2 separate regions of the Homo sapiens genome follow, and region 2 is linked to region 1. Evidence: promoter capture Hi-C in 16 types of primary human blood cells and fetal thymus (Javierre and others, 2016). All regions are on one chromosome and are shown on one strand. The core of a region is centred on a gene start or on the middle of the fragment in contact, and the rest is flanking DNA. Distances in the headings are between cores, read along the strand shown. Region 1 holds the start of ZBED5 (zinc finger BED-type containing 5). Region 2 has its middle 16 kb from the start of MIR8070.

Evidence for each region. Contacts are between HindIII fragments. The CHiCAGO score rates a contact against its expected background, and 5 or more counts as called.
Region 2: a contact is called between a fragment that was not itself captured here and the fragment with the promoter of ZBED5 in region 1, in 3 of 17 cell types (naive CD8 T cells, naive CD4 T cells and activated CD4 T cells). The highest score is 8.3, in naive CD8 T cells.

The regions. Positions count from the first base shown.
Region 1 is chr11:10,856,289-10,860,144 of GRCh38, reverse strand. ZBED5 (zinc finger BED-type containing 5) reads left to right here and starts at 2,092. Exons shown (of 3, transcript NM_001143667.2): 1 at 2,092-2,283. It overlaps ZBED5-AS1 (ZBED5 antisense RNA 1), which reads right to left and starts at 1,928. Exons shown (of 3, transcript NR_034137.1): 1 at 1,779-1,928. RefSeq lists enhancers at 620-1,255, 1,657-1,746, 1,256-1,893, 2,047-2,426. The HindIII fragment of the contact is 21,619 bases long and covers 1-2,958 here.
Region 2 is chr11:11,797,123-11,801,221 of GRCh38, reverse strand. No RefSeq gene overlaps it. Among named protein-coding and RNA genes, the nearest start is that of MIR8070, 16 kb to the right of the region's middle. The HindIII fragment of the contact is 1,661 bases long and covers 725-2,385 here.

The DNA of each region.
Region 1 (3,856 bases), core at 843-3,342:
AGCATGGGAGAAAACGTCCTCATAATCCAATCACTTTAATCCTTCCATACGTGGGGATTAAAATTCGATATAAGATTTGGGTAGGGACACAGAGTCAAATCATATCAGGACCTAATTCCTAAACTTTAGATGTACTTATTTAAACACTATTCTGCCTAACAGTTTAATATTTTGGGTTTTCCCTCTTCATGAAGATGTAAACAAGATGTGTAAAGATTGGTTTGGGAGCCCATGGCAAGGACAGGAAAATCAAACACATGTTCTCACTCATAGGTGGGAATAGAACAATGAGAACACCTGGACACAGGGTGGGGAACATCACACACCAGGGCCTGTCGTGGGGTGGGGGGAGGGGGGAGGGATAGCCCTAGGAGATATACCTAATGTAAATGACGAGTTAACGAGTGCAGCACACCAACATGGCACATGTATACATATGTAACAAACCTGCAAGTTGTGCACCCTAGAACTTAAAGTATAATAATAAAAAAAATAAAAAATAAAAAAAGATTGGTTTGGGAGCACATATGTAAAAGGTTTTTCTAAAATATGAAACACGAAAATATATTATTCCAATATTATTCTGAAGCCAGACAACTCCCGCAATGACAAAATCCCTTGCTCTTCAAGCGCGACTGTACCCCCTTCCCAAAAACGATTTATGCATTTATGGTTAAAGTTCAAATGAAGCTGATTTAATAGAAATAATTTAAAAATAATAATGAGAATATATGGACAGCTTACTATAGGGTGAGATGATGTTGTAATTGACTTTAAAACATTTGGAACTAAATGTCAGTCCTAGGAAATTATGCACTCCTGTAAATTGTGCTATTAAGGGTTAGGTTTCTTTCAACACTTTAGATATTTGATCAGAAGCATATTTAAGAAAAACGAAAGCTGCCCTTGCTTTTGACCCCAAGTTGAGAATTTTCTATCATTGGTGCAGTGCCTGAAAATACGATCCAATCTTCATTTAGTCATTTGTACGGAGTCTGGAAAGGCTAAAACATTGCAAATAATAGGACCTACTCGTACTTTCCCCGCTTAAGAAGCGTATCTATTTCAAGGTGCCTATTTGGAAAAACAGACTCCAGGTCTCCACCACAGAACTTAACACAAAATGAAAGCACACAACCCGCAGCCTTTGGCTGTGGTGTTTTTGAAAACAAGGAAGGGCACAGAACCATGGCTTAAAATACCCGAAAGCTGCAGCCCACAAAAAGAGTATTTCAGGGCGGGTTGGCCGTTCCCTGCAGGCAAACGTTCGGTGCAGGCGGCCGGGCGTTCCTGCGGGGAGGGCGCCACTGTGATGCAAAGACATCAAGCGGACTTTCAGCTTGCCCGTGGACGCTGCGGTGCCGCTTTCCCTATCCAGTCCTGTTCCCGCGGCTCCCCAGCCTACCCCGGGCCGACCAAGAGGTCCGGCGGGGTCTGCGCCGCATCAGCGCCCGCTCGTCAGGCCTAGCCCTCCGCACAGCCAAGGCCGACCAGACCTCTAGACACTCCGTCGTCGGGTGTGGGGCGGAGAAGTAAAGGGCGAGTTTTCTTCCTAGATTCCAGTGGGAACCAAGAAAAGGAGTTGGCAGCTGTGTAAACTGGACCTGGGGTGCGGCCTCCGGGAACAAAAGAGGTGATAAATGCACAGCAGCCGAGGTTCTGCGTGCTCCTTTGGGGCCACTACGAATCCCCGTGAATCACCCCAGCCCGGGCAGAGGGCCAGAAATGATGAAAATGCAGATTCATGGCTTCCACTCCAGCCCTACAAGATCACCAACCGTATCTGGCAGTACCCAGGAATCTGCATTCTCGACAAGCGTCCGCGCCGACGGGGCTAGTGAAGTTTGAGAACAATTGCTTCCTACCCAGCCGCTCCGCTATCACCTAGGTAGCACGGCCGCTGCGGCTGAGGCTGTGACTGCGGCTGCGGCTGGGCCGCGCCTCAACCGAGCTTGGTCCTTTCCTTTGGTCCCGCCCCGCTGCTCAGCGCGGATTGGTGGCGGGACGCAAATCTGGCGCTGATTGGGCGGCGGCAGAGTCGCTCGTGAAGATTGTAGGGTTCGGGTGCTCTAGAGTGCTAAATTTATCTTCAGACCGGCGACCGCGCCAGCCGCGAATCGGATCTCTATGGAGATGGCCTAGGCGATATCCCTGAGCTGAGAGCATCACCCTGTCCCCGAATCCTTCTTTCCTCTCTGTTTTGTTTTTCATTCCCCTCCCTCTCTCCCCTCCCCCTCCAGTCCACGACGACTGGCTGTTGACCCTGTTCAGGCCTCGGTGAAGGTGAGAAGCAGAGCCGCCGCCGCGGCTAAGCGGTGCGCTCTGAAATGGCCGCTTCCTGGAACTGCCTAAGATGGCGGTCGCGGGCTCTGCTGTGGACCGCGGCGCTGCTGTGCAGCCCAGCCGCGGCAAAATCCGTTCTCTCCATCGCTGATGGAGATGAAATAGAGAGATGGTGTTGGGTGCTGAGACGTTTTCATGTGGTCGTTAGCGCAGGCGGCCGCCCGGGGACGCGAGAGAAGACCTGAGGCGAGGGTGGGCTGCGACTGGTAGGGAGCCCCCCAGTCGTGGCAATCTGTGGGCAGCGCGCACCTGTGACAGGGAGGAGCTGAGGGATAGTTGGCCCTGGCTGCACATCCAGGTGACCGTTTAAAAAAGCATTTAGGTGTTGGAAGGAGCATCTGTTCCCACCTTTTTGGCTGGCCTGCACTCAGATCCTGTCCTCCTGACCCTGAGGGTATTGTTCCCAGCCGGAACCGCCCGAAGATAGGGGAGAAAGGATTGTGATACTTGTCAGTTTAACCGGAAGGAGACTAAAGACGGAAGTTTTCCCCGCTCTTCAGGGAGTGGAAAGGAAACTTTACTCTCAAAGGAGTCCAGATTCTTTGTCCTCGAGAAATTCGGGGAAACACCTTCGAAGAGGTGGGGTTGAGGACCTTCTTTCTGAAAACAAAAGCTTCCTACTCTTCTGTGTCCTCTGGCAACGAGAGGGATCCTGATCTTTTACGTGAACCAGCAGCTCCACAGAGTTCTCCGTTGCAAAATCCAAAAGGAGACTGTGGAAGGAGAATCTGCTTTTTTGCTCCCAATAAGAAGCAGGGCTTTATGCTGTTGCTAGTATGAGACCCTCGACTTTCTGGCAGTTATAATCCATTGTTCATCCGTTTCGCTGCATAACCCAACTCCTAGTAACGAGATTTTTTAGTAGTTGGGGAATTAAAAGTATTCAGGAACACCCAAGTAATGGCTAGACACATGGGCTATGCAGTCAAACTTTTTGGGCTCTGAACTTGGTTTTTCACTTACAAGAGGTGTTAGCGAGATGTGTTAACCTGTGTCTGTTTATCTCTAAAGTGGGGTTATTAATAATCCTTGTGTCTTCATAGATGAGATAATCTATATGAGGGATTTAGCAGTAATTGGCATACAGTAAACAATCATCAGTCATTAGACATTGTTTACCTGAGGAGATTGGTCACTGGGGGGCTAAAAATGATTGTAGTGAAAGAACTGCTTCATGTAATAGTTCTATGTATAATTCCATTTTAGATTCAAGACCTAGTTTTAGAGACATTGATGAGGTTGTACTTTTAAAAATTAGGCTTAGTTTCAAGTTCTAGAAAGTGTGGTGGTGGTGTTGTTTTAACATGTTTCTATGAAGTCAGTAGGTGGGGGAACATCTCAAAGCATCTAAATTGCCAAGATATTGAACAGGATGAAAATGTTAGAATTTTTACTATGCTAGGCGTCTTCTCTTTCAGTCCAAGATCTGCATTGCAGTAAAGAATCATTTTCACTGCTTAGATCCAGAAAGAATAAACCCATCTTACGGGTTTATAGTTAGTTCTGCTTGTTA
Region 2 (4,099 bases), core at 306-2,805, 940 kb before region 1:
TAAAATCTGATGGTTGGTTCTCAGTCCTCTTTCAACTTGAACTTTTAGTGATATTTGACACAGTTGGTTCCTTTCCCTTTCTTGACCACTTTCTTCATTTGGTTATGGGGACACTGCAGAAGTCTTTGACTTCTTTTCACCCATTGGCTGTTCCATCTTATCTTCTTCCCTAGCTCCTCTTTTTTTTCTGACGTCCAAATATTTGAATGTCTCAGAGCTCACTTCTCAGCCTCATCTCTGCTCTTTCTTACTCAGTAAGAAATCTCAGCTGGTGTTCTGACTTTAAATGCCAACTATAGGCTGATCATTCTGGAATGTGCATTTCTATATGCACTTTCTGTCCTGAATTCCAGACTTGTATTTCCAGCTGCCTACTTGGCATATTCCCTTGGGTCTCTAGTAGACATCTCAAACTCCACACGTCCAAAACAAAGCTCTTGATTTCTCCATGTCAAATTGCTCCTTCATGGCTTCTCCATCCTTGTTGCCCAAGCCAAAATAGAGAGTCACCCTTGATTCGTCTCTCTCTTACCTTCCACTCTACTCTATCAGAAGAGGTCCGTAATCCATTTACTTTGCTCCAGACCACCATCATTTCTCAGTGGAACAACTATCCCTGCTTTCGCTATTCCCCTGCCTTCATTTTTCATACAGAAGCCAGGGAGATCACTTAGCAACTTACATTAGATAAGGTCATTCCCTTGATTAAAACCTTCCACAAGCTTCCCATGATACTCAAAATCTAGGTTCCCAAACCTTACTTCCAAAGTCCTGTGTGATCTGGCCTCTGGCCGATCTCTCTAATCTTACCTTATTCCCTTTTCTCCTTTGCCCATTCTATTCTAGCTTCACTGGCCTGCTTTGGATTTTTTCAACCTCGTAAGCCACTTCTTTCCCTGATTTTCACATGGCCTTAGAAAGTCTAAATGACATCTCAGAGAGGTTTCCCTGACCACTCATTCTAAAGGAGCCCGACACCTATCACATCACCATATTTTAATTGTCTGCATAACACTTATCTCTGTTGGATATTTTTCTTGTTTATTTGGTATTGTCTGCTCCAACTAGAAGGTCATCAGAAACTTTGCTTTGTTCATTCATGTATTCTCTGCACAATTTGACATGGGTCATTTACAAGATGATTGTATACGTCAGTCCAAGGCATGGGAGAATAGGCTGGAGATGCCGTAGGCTGACACCTTATGTAATACTTCACCAAGACCTGCTGATTTTACCTCCTAAACATTTTTCTATTCCAGGGCTGTCCCTCCATATAAAAGAGATGGAGAAGGCACAAAGCTGTCATCATTTCTTTATTACTTCAACAGTTTCCATCTGGTCTTCCTGCCTTCAGTCTTATTTTCTCCGATCCATTCTCTGCCACAGTTCCTAAAACATAAGTCTGGCATGTCACTCTCCTGTTTAAAACTCTTCAAAGGCTTTCAGTCATTTGCATGATAAAGTCATTAGCCTAACAGTATATTCTGTGTTGTGATAGGTGGTCTCTGTCTCTATGTCCTTCTTGTTTTATTCTCCAAGAATACCCAGCTGCTTGTAGGGCACTGTGAATACTTTGCTTTCCCTGTTTCTGTGTCTTTGCTCATGTGCTCCACTCTGCCTTGGACTGTCTGGCCTTTAGAAGCCATGTGACCTTGGGATATCACTTATTCTTCTGAACCTTAGTTTCCTAATAATCATAATTCTTCACAGGGGCAACGTGAGGGTCAAATGATATCATGTACAGAGAAAAAAGTACAATGCCTGTTGTATAGCATGTGCTCAAAAAATTGCAATTGTATTTTTCAACAATGTTAATGTTGACACTAATACTACTAAACCATAATATAGTGGAGCTAGTGTAAGATTTCTGGTACTTTCTTGGGTTACTTGCCTTGGGAGAAAGTAACCAGATCTGACTAAAAATTTGAACTACCAGCTCTGATTTTCCAGTCCTCCTTCCCTGTCCTTCCTAGAAAACTTGAAATCCACATAATTCTCACCCAAGGATTCTCAAATCTGCAGGGACAAGACAAGCACTTGTTCCTCATTGGGCCCTGGGACCCTCCCCGGCTGTGCTCTCGGGTGAGGGGGTCAGTTGGGATTGTCCAGCATTTCTGTGTCTTGGGAATGGAAATTAAGACTTCGGAGTTTTCCTCCAGTCTTTCTCATAGACTTACTGAACAGCCAGGTTTCAGAGACATGCTGGAGCCCCCTGGTGGTGGCTTCTGGGCACGGTAATAGCCATAACTGCAGGGTGAATGGAACCTGTGAAGTTCAAAGTACTTTGTCACTATGTTATCTTGTTATCACTGCAAGGAGTGTTAGGGATCTACTTGGCATCTTGTGGACTGACATATGAGGGAGGATAATGACATGTTCTAAGCTTCCAGGGTGTGGTGGGGATGATGGGAAAGGGCTTTGGTGCCAGTGGGATGGGTTAGCCTGGAGTGCTCCCCAGGGACAAAAAGCAAGGTTGCTGTACATAATGACAACCTTTGACTGGATCAGAATGAGACCCAGGTGAGCCAGGTCTCCTGGTGATTTTTATCTACTTTCAAGGTTTAGCTGCTCTGAGCTCTGTGAATTTCAAGTAGTCCAACAGTCAGTTTGGCGAATACATTCATTTACTTAGAGACTTAATAAATTAAGCCAATAAATACCTACCATATACTAGGTGTTAAGTGCTGTGGCAAGTGCTGTGGCAAATTCTGAGATGAATCATTGCCCCCACCTTCCACAAACTCACAATCTGGTGGGGATTATGAGACTCATAGACAAATAATTGAATGGAAGAACATTCCATGCTCCTGGATAGGAAGAATCAATATCGTGAAAACGGCCATACTGCCAGAGGTAATTTATAGATTTAATGCCATCCCCATCAAGCTACCAATGACTTTCACCACATAATTGGAAAAAACTACTTTAAAGTTCATATGGAACCAAAAAAGAGCCCGCATTGACGAGACAATCCTAAGCAAAAAGAACAAAGCTGGAGGCATCACACTACCTGACTTCAAACTATACTACAAGGCTACAGTAACCAAAACAGCATGGTACTGTACCAAAACTGAGATATAGACCGATGGAACAGAACAGAGCCCTCAGAAATAATACCACACATCTACAACCATCTCATCTTTGACAAACCTGACAAAAGCAATGGGGAAAGGATTCCCTATTTAATAGATGGTGCTGGGAAAACTGGCTAGCCATATGTAGAAAGCTGAAACTGGATCCCTTCCTTACACCTTGCACAAAAATTAATTCAAGATGGATTAAAGACTTAAATGTTAGACCTAAAACCATAAAAACCCTAGAAGAAAACCTAGGCAGTACCATTCAGGACATAGGCATGGGCAAGGACTTCATGACTAAAACACGAAAAGCAATAACAACAAAAGCCAAAATAGACAAATGGGATCTAATTAAACTAAAGAGCTTCTGCACAGCAAAAGAAACTACCATCAGAGTGAACAGGCAACCTACAGAATGGGAGAAAATTTTTGCAATCTACCCATCTAACAAAGGGCTAATATCCAGAATCTACAAAGAACTTAAACAAATTTACCAGAAAAAAATCAAACAACCCCATCAAAAAGTGGGCAAAGGATATGAACAGATACTTCTCAAAAGAAGACATCTATGCAGCCAACAGACACATGAAAAAATGCTCATCGTCACTGGCCATCAGAGAAATGCAAATCAAAACCACCATGAGATACCATCTCACACCAGTTAGAATGGCGATCATTAAAAAGTCAGGAAACAACAGGTGCTGGAGAGGATGTGGAGAAATAGGAACACTTTTATGCTGTTGGTGGGACTGTAAACTAGTTCAACCATTGTGGAAGACAGTGTGGCGATTCCTCAAGGATCTACAACTAGAAATACCATTTGACCCAGCGATCCCATTACTGGGTATACACCCAAAGGATTATAAATCATGCTACTATAAAGACACATGCACATGTATGTTTATTGCGGCCCTATTCACAATAGCAAAGACTTGGAGCCAACCCAAATGTCCATCAGTGATTGACTGGATTAAGAAAATGTGGCACATATACACCCTGGAATACTATGCAGCCACAAAAAA